Linked DNA regions of Homo sapiens: region 1 is linked to region 2. The links are contacts of gene promoters, found by promoter capture Hi-C in blood cells and fetal thymus (Javierre and others, 2016). All regions are on one chromosome and are shown on one strand. Each heading gives the region's core, a stretch centred on a gene start or on the middle of the fragment in contact. The rest is flanking DNA. Distances are from core to core; before and after follow the strand shown. Region 1 overlaps CAND1.11 (a long non-coding RNA gene). Region 2 holds the start of SWAP70 (switching B cell complex subunit SWAP70).

What was found. Contacts are between HindIII fragments. The CHiCAGO score rates a contact against its expected background, and 5 or more counts as called.
Region 1: a fragment that was not itself captured here is called in contact with the fragment with the promoter of SWAP70 in region 2 in 2 of 17 cell types (M1 macrophages and naive B cells); the score reaches 6.2 in M1 macrophages.

The regions. Positions count from the first base shown.
Region 1 is chr11:10,321,639-10,328,111 of GRCh38, forward strand. The region is part of intron 1 of CAND1.11 (a long non-coding RNA gene); the gene reads left to right. Among named protein-coding and RNA genes, the nearest start is that of CAND1.11, 17 kb to the left of the region's middle. The HindIII fragment of the contact is 1,089 bases long and covers 3,006-4,094 here.
Region 2 is chr11:9,661,011-9,668,154 of GRCh38, forward strand. It overlaps SWAP70 (switching B cell complex subunit SWAP70), which reads left to right and starts at 3,067. Exons shown (of 12, transcript NM_015055.4): 1 at 3,067-3,268. The coding sequence starts at 3,170. RefSeq lists enhancers at 2,245-2,444, 3,555-3,674 and a silencer at 2,915-3,414. The HindIII fragment of the contact is 17,442 bases long and covers 1-7,144 here.

The DNA.
Region 1 (6,473 bases), core at 2,300-4,799, 660 kb after region 2:
AGGAATGTTCTCTTTGGTCACCAGGAGTTGTGTTGCTACAGAGTTAAAGCTACTCACTTTTCTGTCAACTCTACTTCCAAAAAGAAAACCCACAAATATATGTTTGCAAAATCTGTTTGGGATCCTGGAGACAAGGTCCTTAACTTTATCTTTTTCCTGAACAAGTTTCATACTTAAAAAAAATAATAACAATTAAAATTCCTCCAGCCCTACCCCCACCTTCTTCCATCCTTCCATTTCTACTTTAAATGATAAGAAAGTTTCCTCTTGGATGGAAATTAAACATCTCAGCCTGGGTGAGGCAGCTCAGGCCTGTAATCCCAGCATTTTGGTAGGCTGAGGCAGGAGCCTTGCTTGAGGTCAAGGGTTCAAGACCAGCCTGGGCAACATAAGGAAATCCTCCTTCTCTAATCTAAGGGGAAAAAAAAAAAAGTATCTCAGTCTAAGGTGTGTCTGAGAGAGTTCTGAATCACCATTTTGGGATGGAACAAACTGACCAGTCACTTCTTTTTTTTTTTTGAGACGGAATCTCGCTCTGTCACCCAGGCTGGAGTGCAGTGGCGCAATCTCGGCTCACTGCAAGCTCCGCCTCCCGGGTTCACGCCATTCTCCTGCCTCAGCCTCCTGAGTAGCTGGGACTACAGGCGCCTGCCACCACGCCCAGCTAATTTTTTGTATTTTTAGTAGAGACAGGGTTTCACCATGTTAGCCAGGATGGTCTTGATCTCCTTACCTCGTGATCTGCCTGCCTCGGCCTCCCAAAGTGCTGGGATTACAGGCGTGAGCCACTGCTCCCGGCTGACCAGTCACTTCTTAAAGGCAAAACTGGATTTGCTCTGCAAAACAATTCAGCAAAAACTTGGGTTCCAACTCTGGTGCTACACTGTGACAATGGAAACTTTCCAGCTACAACTTGGAAGTTGGGAGCCAAGCACAATACTAAGTCAAGGAAGGTATTTGAGGCCAAAGCAGACAGTGGTCTTGGCACTGCCTGCTCCTGAGCCCAAGCTGCAGCAGCTGTGGGGTGGTGATGCAGCTTTCAGAGATCTCTAAATCTCTAAGTACACCAGAAACCAGATTTTATTAACTCCCCTTTTCCACTTTTTTTTGCCCCTACATTTCTGCCATGGATTATATCATAATAGATGGTGAAAATGCTGTGAGGTGTATACTCAATTCCTAGGCATTCTTCCACTTAATCATACTCAGTTTTCTTTGAGGGCCTCCACATTGTAAATGAGCAACACCTTGATACTGGGAAAATGAATATGAAACTCAGGGCCACAGCCTCTGTGATCTGGTCATTCTGGGGCAGTCATTTTCCTACTTGGCCTACAGAACCAGGCAGGTCTCTGGCCTGGGGGTGGCGGGTGATGTTGTATTCTCTTGTCAAAGTGCACAGAGCCCACTCTGAGAAGATGCTATACTCTTCACGTTACAAGACGGCAATATGCCCGTTTCTGGGCCAATTGGCTGACTCAGAGATGAGGAGATTATTCCGTGACACTTTGTTTTCATTCCAGTCCAAAGGGCAAAAAAAAAAAAAAAAAATGTAAAACTCTGCTGCCACCTGCTGTTTCTTTAGGAATAAATTCTTGAAACGGTTCTAGGTTGATTGTATATTGGTTATCTTAGCCAAGTGCCTTGGTGGTGAATTTGGGGGATTTTGGAATATAAGTTTATGTAGTTGTGTACCAACTGGACTGTCATTTCCTAGGATGAACTGTTGGACCACATGGGTGGCTTCTCTCTTTCAGTCCATTAAGTCCTGCCTCCCTCATCCCTTGCTGAGACTCAAGGGCAGACTCCTTGATCCCAGACAACTTTCCAAGGGAGTTCACGCAAGGCTCTGACCAGTGAGGCTCCAGAGCAAAACCCAGGAGGCTTATAGGTTTAAGTGTCTTTTCTTTATGGGCCAATGATGTCTGAAAACTGTAGCAGTAGGTAAATTCCCCAAGCACAGACTATTCTCTGCTGGGTGTCAGTGGGTGGTATTGGAAGTGCCTCTCAGAAGTGCTCTTCTCAGCTTGAGGTTCATTTGTGATGAGGTTCATTTGTGGTGTCTCCAGATGTTTTATCTTTGTCTTCCTTGAGGAAACTGAGGCAGATTAAGGAAGACGAGTGTCCAGGAAAGTAAAGGCTAGCTCCATTTGAATCACACCCAGGTGAGAATACTTGAGCTCAGGTTAGATGATGAGAGGGATGAGGAAAACAGTGGCTCCTCGGAGCTCAAATAAAGAGCACTGGAGCATTAATATAGTCATAAGCTTAGATGGGCTTGATAAAGCCCTTAGTCATCTTATTGGAGGCATCCAGAGGACAGAGGCTGCCTTGCCTTGACTATATTAGTGGCTTGTTGCTGCTCCAAATCAGAAAGTGGGATTTTCCTTTTTGCCTTCTTTGGGAAGATCCATTTGTATGTAAATGAGTTCTTTTTGATTGCAGTCATTGTTGTAGCTGAGAATTCTTTCAACCAAGATCTTTTTCTTGGCAGAGATTACTGAGTCTATTAAGTGTGTTTTCATATAATTCTAAGTGACTTTTTAGATGGACACAGAAAGAAGTGTTAAGGAAATGACCCTTGGTCTTTTCTCCTATCAAAGAGAAAAGGCATTTGAGTGGTATCGATAAGCATTGAAGGTAACTGATGGCTTATCACTGTGTCTGGCATTATAGCTGGCACATTTATTGACTGAATGGTCAAACTTATCACCCGTTGTTCTTCCCAGAAGGTTCGTGAGACCTGTTGGGGAGGGACGGGGATAGAAAGGAACAGAAGGAAGAGTCTCAGAGTTAATCAGGTGGAAAGTCTGTAAGTGGAGTGAACCATGGGAGCTAGAATGCTATGGTAGGACCAAAATTAATACTGTATATGTCAAAATAAATGTGTATTACTTATAAAGTATATACAGTTCCTAAAAATTATCAAACAAGGTTATTATGTACAACATTTCTCCCTTCTGTGTCTCATTCCCTAAATATTATGATTGTTAACATATTGCACAAGCTTGACCATGTTTATGCTTCATGTATTTTCTTGTTTATGTCCCCGTTGTTCTCCCTCAGTATTTTGTAAAGGCTTTGGAAAAGTTCCAGCCTATCTCAGCTATGTGAAGAAGAGTTCAGGGAAGGAGTTTGTATAACACTAAAGAAATGTCAGTATCTCCTCACAGGTAGGGGCTGACATGATGCCACGGCAATGGGAAATGAAGTGGGAAACCCGAAGCAGGAAGGAAAACTCAGGAGAACTGGGTTGGGATAGTGGTTTCAGCTTCTCCTCGCCTCCTAAAGAGTCTCTTGATAGTTCTCAGGCCTTGAAGGTTCTGCCTGCCCCCAGGTTCCCCACCCCAGGAAAATAAGCAACTTCTCAGGAGAATAATGAGGTTGGTGTTTACCTTTGTGCTTCATTTGAGTAGCATGAGAGCACCCCATTCCTCACATCTGTTCATTCTTCTCCCCTTAGAAATCTTGTCTCAGCTGAAAGGTCAGAGCTAGAAGCCCCAATCTGCTTCTAGCTCTGACCTTCTGGCTTTGTCAGGAATCCCTATGAATTTGTGCTGTTGATTTTCTTTGAACTAAATACAGAAATGTGTCTGCACTCTGGGATAGAGAAGAGAGTATAGTAATTGCCAGGAGAACTGAAGATGACCTTAAGGCAGGCCAGGTGACTGGTAAACCATACCCTTCACAAGGCTACCAGAGCTCTAGCCTGACCAATATTATTTTGAAAGGGAATACATTAGAATCCCTGGTGACTAGATGAACATGGCCATCACTATTTCTACAAACCTGTCTTCTGATGAACATATACTCCTGCTGGATGGTGTCAAGACATGCTTGTTTCTTGAGTGGTTTAGATACCAGTTATTGCCCCTCCTGTTATGCCTGGTAACTAGGATGCTGTCAAGAAAATACAGCAGGACTTCATTGAGCTTAAAAAGAGCGTTTCAAAAATATTGCATTAGCCTTTTGTCCTTTCAGTCTGTTTTTCATAGAACAAATGTAATCTTAGTCGCTACAAATTTGTTTAAAATAGCTCTTCTGGTGAGTCACCTAAAGTTAACTGCAGATATGGTATTGTTTTAGCCATGTCAAGCTTGAAATGTTATCCAAGTCCTAGGAACTACTCACTATGGGAAGCTGATGATGTATGTGCCCTCACACGTGTTTTGAGGGTGATCCTATAATGTCCGGAGAGAAAGAAATGCCTGAGATGAACTGGTCAGCATTACATTTCTCAGAACGGGCTGCAAGAGCTTCAGAAGCAAAAGGAGTGTTCTCTGTAGGCTCAGATGCTCACATGACCCAAGACACGTGAAGGGTCTGCCCATCATTCACCCCTCTATCCCCACAAGTGGTCAGAAAGTTAGGAAAATCTCCAAGAGACCATGCAGAAGGGTCAAAGGATCTTGCAGATGTTCTGAGCAAAAAAATGAAAACTTTAAACAGAACATTGTGCCATGACTTGAAAAGGTCATTATCTAGTTCACACTTACATCAGACTATAAATATTGTCAGAAAAATGGATATGTTTGCCAGGACCATGAACAGTAAAATTGCTTAAAATAGGCCACAGAAACCCTCAAGGCCAGTGGGGCCATGGCAGGCCATGACACTCAAACCTGATGCTGCCTTGTGAGAGACCTCAGCAGGAACAAAAGCCAACAGCTGCTTATTGGAAAATTTATACTCAGTGGCCCTCAAAAATTGCAAAAGCCTTTCAAGTCATGTAAGTTAATTTTGTCTCACTCTTCCACCAGGTAGAAGTGAGACAGGGAGACTCATGCTCCTTAAATGAGGTCCCTTGTCAAAGACTAGCTGTCTTATGGCCTTTGAATACTCTGCCCTTCCCCCTTCCTATGGTATAGCTTTGTGTCCAGTTAGCACTGAGCAGAAGCTGCTCTCCTGCTGTCCCCACCCACTGTTGGCTAAAGCCAGGTCACCTCCTGCCAGGCAGCGGCTGGGTGAAAGTCCAGAGAAGCTCTCCTGAATAAACAAGTCAAACAAAGGCAGTTCCCAGCAGTGGATGGGGCTGTACTCCAGAAGTCTATTTGCAAATCTGTCCTTTAGAACTCGGAAGACATTCCCCAGGAGGAGCAATGTTATGCAGTGTGGCAAGGTTCCCAGGCTAGCCCACACCTCTGATTTAACCCAGAATGGGCTGGGGAAACAGTGCTCTAGAACTCATCATTATGGGTAATACCTTTGTAGTCTCTGCTCTTCAGTTTACAAATAGTTGCTGAGCTAGGCATGGTTCCAGGTGATGTGAAGGTTCAAAGCTGCCTCAGCTTTGTGGAGTAGGTAGATTCAGTAGCTCCTGGGTGCACAGTGGCTGAGATTTTCCCAGTCTCATGAAATCCCTGCTTCTCTTTCCTATCTACATGTTTTAGGCTGAAAGTGAAGGGATGACCATTCCGGCTTTTCTTTGGTTTGTTTCTTCAAGATAACCTGGTGTAGGGAAGGGTGAGAGTCCTGGCTCTATCATTACACACAGCAGCATCTCCAAGCTTCAGTTTCTCCTCTGAAAAATAGGATAATATGTAGCTAAGAGAGCCTTGGAGTTGCCTCCCCAGCCCTTGTTCTTCTCTTGGTAACTACCATGACTTTTGTTAGGGTATCCACATCTCCCCCAATAGACCACTCCACTCCTGAAGACTCAGGCCTAGTGCAATTCCATTTTAAGGCCACTATTACAGGACCCAGTGATGGGTGCTGGCCTAATTCAGGCCAGTGAGCTTGCATAAGTTTATTGGCTTATTTCCAGAAAAACAAATTTCCTTTTTCCTGCTAGATAAGAATGGGACACATATGTGGTCTCACTAGCAATTCAGGCCAATGAGTTTGCATAAGTTTACTGGCTTATTTCCAGAAAAACAAGTTCCCTTTCTCCTGCTAGATAAAAGTGGGAGACATATGCAGTCTCAGCAGCAATAGAAAGCCACTCTGAGACTAAAACAGGGGCAAGCCCTAGATGGAAGCTCTCATTGTGAATGGCAGAGTGGAGTGATGGAAAATAGAACTCCCTGATAAAGTTGTTGAACTCCTAAATGGACCCATCCTCAATCCTGTCATACTTCTATTGTATAAACCAATCATCTCCTTCACTTAGTAACCCATAGTGAGTTGAGCTTTCTGCTCCTTTTAATGGAAGCCATCTTAATTAATACATTATAGCACAGGATTTACTATGGGCATTAAATGGGATATAGCATTCACAGTATCTGTCTCATGCTGAAAAAAGAAAAAAAATTCATAGTATTTAGCACAGAATTTATATATGACCCCTGCCCTTCCAGTCCAAGGGCATTAATGGAAAAGACCATAGTTTCTCAGGCCTTTGTTGGATAGGGAAGAAGAGGGCATGTGTGGACTCCAACACGACCTTAACCTGGTTTGAGGCTTGAATATCTTGCCTGGGCTAGAAAGGTGGCCCCTCTGGACTGGCTTTAATTTTAGGATCAGTCCCTTTAGAG
Region 2 (7,144 bases), core at 1,817-4,316:
ATTAGCATTCTCATTTTACATATGAGGAAATGAAGCCTTATATTTACTCATAGATGAGTCAATGGGGAAGCCCGGATTCTTCCCGACATCTGTGTGGTAGCCATCTTCCAAGATGACCCCCATGATTCTTGCCCATTGGTACTCATATCCTTTTGTAGTTTCCCTCCCAAATCAAATAGATTTGACCTGAGCAATCAGTAGAGCATTGCAGAAATGATGGTGAATGACTTTTGATGGTGGATCGTAAGAGACATTGCAACTTCCATCTTTCTCTTTCTTGAATCAATTGAAAGCCAGCTGACGTGTTGTAAGGATACTCAAGCAGCCTGAGGACAGGCCCATATACAGAGGAACTGAGGCCTTCTGTAAACGACCCATCCATGTGAGTGAACCACCTTGGAAATAGATTTTCCAGCATCAGCCTAGCCTTCAAATGACTACAGCCCTATATTTTACTGCAACCTCCTGAGACACTTCAAGCCAGAACTATAGAGCTAAGTGGCTTCTAAATTCCTGACTTACAGAAAATATGAAATAATGTTTACTATAGTTTTAAGCTGCTAAATTTTGGGTTAATTGGTTACACAGCATTAGATTAATATAATCTGTTAGATTCTGAAGCACAACTCTTTACTTTTCTTTCTTTCTTATTTTCAATTTTTTTGTGGAGACGGGGTTTTGCTACATTGCCCAGGCTGGTCTTGAACTCCTGGCCTCAAGCAATCCTCCCACCCCAGTCTCTCAAAGTGTTGGGATTACAGGCAGGAGCCACTGCACCCAGGAAAAGCACAGCGCTTTCTATGACATCATGCTACTTTAAAATTTGTTTGGATAGGAAGGGCATGGTGGCTCACGCCTGTAATCCCAGCACTTTGGGAGGCCAAGGAGGGCAGCTCACTTGAGGCTGGGAGTTTGAGACCAACCTGGCCAACATGGCGAAACCCCATCTCTACTAAAAATAAAAAAATTAGCCGGGCGTGGTGGCTGGCGCCTGTAATCCCAGCTACTTGGGAGGTTGAGGCAGGAGAATCGCTTGAACCCGGGAGGCGGAGGTTGCAGTGAGCTGAGATCATACCGTTGCACTCCAGCCTGGGCAACAGAGTGAGACTCTGTCTCAAAAAAAAAAGAAAAGAAAAAAAAAGAAAAAAAATGCGTTTGGATTGTATGAATGAGGATGATGGGAGAAGTAGGAATTTGGAAGTCCACAATGTCCTGGTCTTGTCATAAAAAAAAGGCTTTGAAATATGTTTGGTACTTCCAGATACTGAGAGAGAAGAAGGGTCATATAGTGGTTAAACTGAACCTTGAGAATTAGGAGGTTTTCTTCGTTTCTTTTTTCTTCTTCTTCTTTTTTTTTTTTTTTTGCTACTCAGGGTAAGCTGACTTCGCATGAATAAATCAGAGGTTAAACCATGTGGTTTTGCTGACTGGCAGACTTGGGCTGGAAATGGGGAAGATAAATGATAGAAATTGGATTCTGGTAGGGCAAGAAAAGTCCTGACAAATGGTGATGAAATGGGGTAGAACCTTCAGGACAGTCACAGTGAGGGGCTGGCCACCCTTTTGCTCCTGCCCCTTCTTTCGTCAGTGGGGCCATCCTCTCCTCTTCCCCACCAGTTCCTTTTTGATCTCAAACTCACTGAAGAGGCTCCTTCTTGTTCTTCTCTTTCCAAATATCCCTTTCTTATGAAGATCTTTTCCTTTCTTAATAAGGCAAACATGTGCATTAAGGAACTTAAAAAAGCAAAACAAAACCAAACTTCATCTGAGAACCACCTCATTTTAAAAACTCTTGGTGTTTATTGTTCTCTCCAATTAGTCCAGGATTGGAGAGGAGAGGTACTGAGCCTGGCGATTTAATCAGACCTTAGTTAACCGGCAATAGTTATTATCCTAGGATGCTAGTACTGCAAGAACCCTTCCAGAACATCTGGTGCAACCCTGCTCTTTTTATACGGGATAATTTGAAGCCCAAAGAGATCAAGTGACCATTGTGACCACCGCGAACAGATATTAATTCAACAGCTGCAATCGAATACTTTTTTTTTTTTTTTTGAGACGGAGTTTCACTCTTGTTGCCCAGGCTGGAGTGCAATGGCGCGATCTTGGTTCACTGCAACCTCCGCCTACCGGGTTCAAGCGATTCTCCTGCCTCAGCCTCCCGAGTAGCTGAGATTACAGGCATGTGCCACCACGCCCGGCTAATTTTGTATTTTTAGTAGAGACGGGGTTTCTTCATGTTGGTCAGGCTGGTCTCGAACCCCCGACCTCAGGTGATCCGCCCGCCTTGGCCTCCCAAAGGGCTGGGATTACAGGCGTGAGCCACCACGCCTGGCCGAATACGTTCTTTTAAATGGTCCATCTCTTTGGATTAGTAAAATGGGTGGAGTGATTTGGAATTGGCCCAGATCTCCTATTCTGCAAGCAGAGAAACACTACAGAGAGGTATTACCCAGGTCAAACCCCTCCTAAGATGTGAATTGAACAACAGCTAGGCGTTAGGAAGAAAATGCTGCCTGACCCTGACTTCTAAACTCCCCTTAAACGTCGTCGCTGTGTCCCTAGAACCCAAGATAGAGTATGCATGAATAAACTTTTGCGAAATGAACCAACAAACTTCCCTCGAGGTCCTTCCTGCCTCCCCGCCGCCCTGCATCTCCCCGACTTGGGACTGCGCTATCATTTCAGTCCTGGTCTGGGGACTTTTCGGGGTCTTCTCTGGCCTTCTCAGACAGTGACTCCGTTCCCAGGACAGGACCAGGGATCCCTTTTTCACTGCGGGGCGCTGGGAGGAGGCGGGTAGGCTGCTCACCTAATCTCTCGGGTTTTTCCTCAAGACGCGGTCATTTGTGTGAGGTGTTGTACTCGAGCACCCAAAATGGCCCGAACTGGTCTGGGAAACATTAGGGAGATGTGTTTACCGTCCTGGCTGACACTGAAGGCCAAGCATTCTTGCCACCAGGCGTGGCTTGACTCGCAGAACCCACACTCTGGCGGCTGTGGGCGCGGCACTGGACCGGCGCCGGCAGCAGGGCGGGGCCTGGCGGGGGCGGGGCCTGGCGGGTCAGGTGACTGCGCGGCGGGCTGTGGCTGCGGAGGTTGAGGGGCGTCCGAGGCGCGGAGGGGCTGGCTGGGCAGGAGGGGTTGGCGGGGCAGCAGGGCCGCGGCCATGGGGAGCTTGAAGGAGGAGCTGCTCAAAGCCATCTGGCACGCCTTCACCGCACTCGACCAGGACCACAGCGGCAAGGTCTCCAAGTCCCAGCTCAAGGTGGGCGCCTCCTGACCCGGCCCCCCACCCGACCCTCCCCGGCGCGCTCTGTACTTCCCTTGGGTGGAAGCGGGACCTGGCGGGCCGTGACCGCAGGGCGGGGCGGGTCGGAATGCGCCCGGTAGGCCCGCTTGGGGCGGAGTGGGTCTGAGACCGGGATTTGGTGTTTACTGCCTCCCCCTTGCCTTCGGGCCATGCCCTCGGTTGGATGTGTTAGTTCCCGCGGGTCTCCCAGGGACTGGGAAGGGTGGCGGGCATAAGGCTGGGGTGAAGTCTGGAGGGCCAAGTGTGATTCCTTCTTGGCGTTGGAGAGCGGGGGGCAGAAAGTGGATTCTGAGGCGGCAATGGGAAGCTCCCTTACACAGCCTTCCCAGAATTTTCCTCTTACTCCAGGAGAGGAAGGGACTTGCCCAAGGTCGCTGGGCAGAACCTTCTGCAGCCCACAGCCCCACACCAGGACAGTCCTCAAAACGGCTAGCTGCCCCGGAGGCGACAGGGCAGTCCGGAGACGCAGAAATGCCCCGAAGCCCGGCCTCCAGGGTCCTTCTCCTTTGGGAGGCTTTTTGACTTGGGAAGACCTTCCGCCCAGCGTCTTTTAAGTTTGGAACTAGTGGACGGGGTGTACTGTGTCCCACAGGGACCTTAGTTCCGGGTGAGGAGCGCTGATCTTTCTGGCACCCTGCAAAAGCGACTGCTTTTTCAGAGTCGTTATTGTGACTGCCGGAGACCCTAGAGTATAGGGTATAAATAAAGGGATGCTTGTAAATTGAGTAACCCCAAGCAGCGAAATTGGCATTAAGCCAGCAGAAATTGGCAGCTTCTTCAAAGTAAAAAAATATAGAAACAGACAAGAAAAGCTATTCATAGGCATTTAAAAATATACATATTTTAGATCCGAATGTCCGGTTTTCTTAGCCCCTTCTGGGAATAAATTCTGAAGATTGGGTTTGTTTTGTATATTTTTGTACAGTAATCCCGTTCTTCTGAGTAGTGGCTTTTATGCCAGTAGGACTTAACATTCTCCTTGTCTTCCTTTTGCCTCTCCTTTCTTTTTCTCACTGATAGAATCATAGTCTGGAAGGGTCCATGGAGATCATCCACGTAATTTTTATTTTACTTCATTTTTAAATATTAACATACAGTAAAATTGACTTTTGGTGTACAGTTCTATAAATTTCAACATATGTATAGATTTATATAACTATCACCACAACCATGGCTTCCTCAGTTCCATCATCCTAAAAAACTCCCTGATGTTGCCCTGCCTCCACCCCAACTGTCGGCAACCATTGATCTTTCCTAATTGCTATAGTTTTACCTTTTCCGAAGTGCCATGTAAATGGAGTCATATAGTTTGTAACTGTTGAAACTGATTTCTTTTACCCAGCATAATGCCTTAGAGATTAATCCATTTTGTTGTGTGTACCAATAATTTTTTAAATTGCTAAGTAATATTCTATTGCATGGATGTATGGTAGTTTTTAGCCATGCATCTGTGAGAATTTGTGTTATTTCCAGTTCGGGGGAGTTATGAGTAGGTCTACATTTTACTTTTATTTTTACTTTTAACTTACCTATGCCATTTTATTTAAAGTAAGTTTTTAATAAATAGATGTAGCTGGGTCTTTTTTTTTATTCATTCTGACAATCTCTGTCTTTTAATTGGTATATTTAGGCCATTTACATTTAATGTAATTATTGATATGGTTTGATTTAGGGCTACCATTTTATTATAATTTGGTTTCTGCTTTTTTTTTTTCCTCTCTTTTTCTTCCATCTTTGGGATTATTTGAATATGCTTTAGTTTTTTGTTTTTTTTTTTTCTGAGACACAGTCTTGCCCTGTTGCCCAGGCTGGAGTGCGGTGGTGTGATCTCGGCTCACTGCAACGTCTGTCTCCTAGGTTCTAGAGATTCTCGTGCCTCAGCCTCCCAAGTAGCTGGGATTGCAGGTGTGCGTCACCACACCTAGCTAATTTTTGTATTTTTAGTAGAAACGGGGTTTCACCATGTTGGCCAGGCTGGTCTTGAACTCCTGAGCTCAGGTGATCTGCCCTCCTTGGTTTCATGAAGTGCTAGGATTACAAGTGTGACCCACTGTGCCTGGCCAATATTTCATTTTAATAGAGTTTTTTACTATATTTCTTCATGTAGGTTTTTTTAGTACTTGCTCTAGGAGTTAGAATATCCATCCCTAACTTTTCATAGTGTACTTAGAGTTAATATTTTACCACTTTAAGGAGAATGTAGAAAACTTATCACCATATAGGTCCCTTTACTCTCACTGCTTTATGTTGTAATTGTCATATTTATTAATCTACATACATTGAAATCCCCATCAGACAATATTAAATTTTTTGCTTTCAACCATCATTTCTCTTTTAAAGATCTTAAGAGGAGAAGAAAATTTTATTCTTTTTTTCCAGATATTCCCAGATGACCTCTTAATTTTTTTTTTTTTTTTTTGAGCCGGAGTTGCGCTCTGTCACCCAGGCTAGAGTGCAGTGGTGTGATCTCGGCTCACTGCAACCTCTGCCTCCCGGGTTCAAGCGATTCTCCTGCCTCAGCCTTCTGAGTAGCTGGGACTACAGACACGTGCCACCAAGCCTGGCTAATTTTTGTATTTTTAGTAGAGATGGGGTTTCACCATATTGGCCAGGGTGGTCTCAAACTCCTGACCTCGTGATCTGCCCGCCTTGGCCCTGCAAAGTGCTGGGACTACAGGTGCCCGCTGCCATGCCTGACTAATTTTTTTGTGTGTATGTTTTAGTAGAGACGGGGTTTCATTGTATTGCCCAGGCTGGTCTCGAACTCCTGAGCTCAGGCAATTTAACCAACTTGGCCTCCAGAAGTGCTAGGATTACAGGTGTGAGCAACTGCAATGATATGTTTAGTGATTTGTCCAAAGTCACAGTTGTAAGTAGTAGCTAATCTAGAACCAAGATTTTCACACTTCTGTGTGTGTGTGTGTGTGAGAGAGAGAGAGAGAGAGAGAGACAGGGTCTTGCTGTGTCACCCAGGCTGGAGTGCAGTTGCACTATCTTGGCTCACTGCAACCTCCACTTCCTGGCTCAAGCGATCCTCCAGCCTCCACCTCCCAAGTAGCTAGGCTCACAGGCATGAGCCACCATGCTCAGTTCATTTTTGTATTTTTTTGTAGACATAGGGTTTTGTCATGTTGTCCAGGCTGGTGTTGAACTCCTGAGCTCAAAGACATCCGCCCGCCTTGGCCTTCTAAAGTGCTGGTATTCAGATATGAGCCACCTTGTCCAGACAACTCTTTATAATTCTTTTTCTCTTTTTTTGGAGACAAGGTCTTTTTGTCGCCCAGGCTGGAATGCGGTGGCGCGATCATGGCTCAATGCAGCCTCAACCTCCTGGGCTCAAGCAGTCCTCCCACTTCAGACTCCCACGTAGATGGGACTACAGGCACAGGCCACTATGCCCAGCTAATGTTTGTACTTATGTAGAGATGGAGTTTTGCCATTTGCCCAGGCTGGTCTTGAATTCCTGAGCTCAGACTATATGCCTGCCTCAGCCTCTCAAAATGCTGGGATTACAGGCACGAGCCACTGCACCCATCCTATTTTCACACTTTATTACTATTACTGTTGTATTTTTTATTTTTTTGAGACGGAGTGTCGCTTTATCACCCAGGCTGGAGTGCAGTGGTGCGATCTTGGCTCACTGCAACCTCTGCTTCCTGGGTTCAAGCGATTCTCCTGCCTCAGCCTCCCAAATAGCTGGGATTACAGGTGCCCACTACCACACCTGGCTAATTTTTGTATTTTTAGTAGAGATGGGGTTTCACCATGTTGGCTGGGCTCATCTCAAACTCCTGACCTCAGGTGATCCACCCGCCTTGGCCTCCCAAAGCA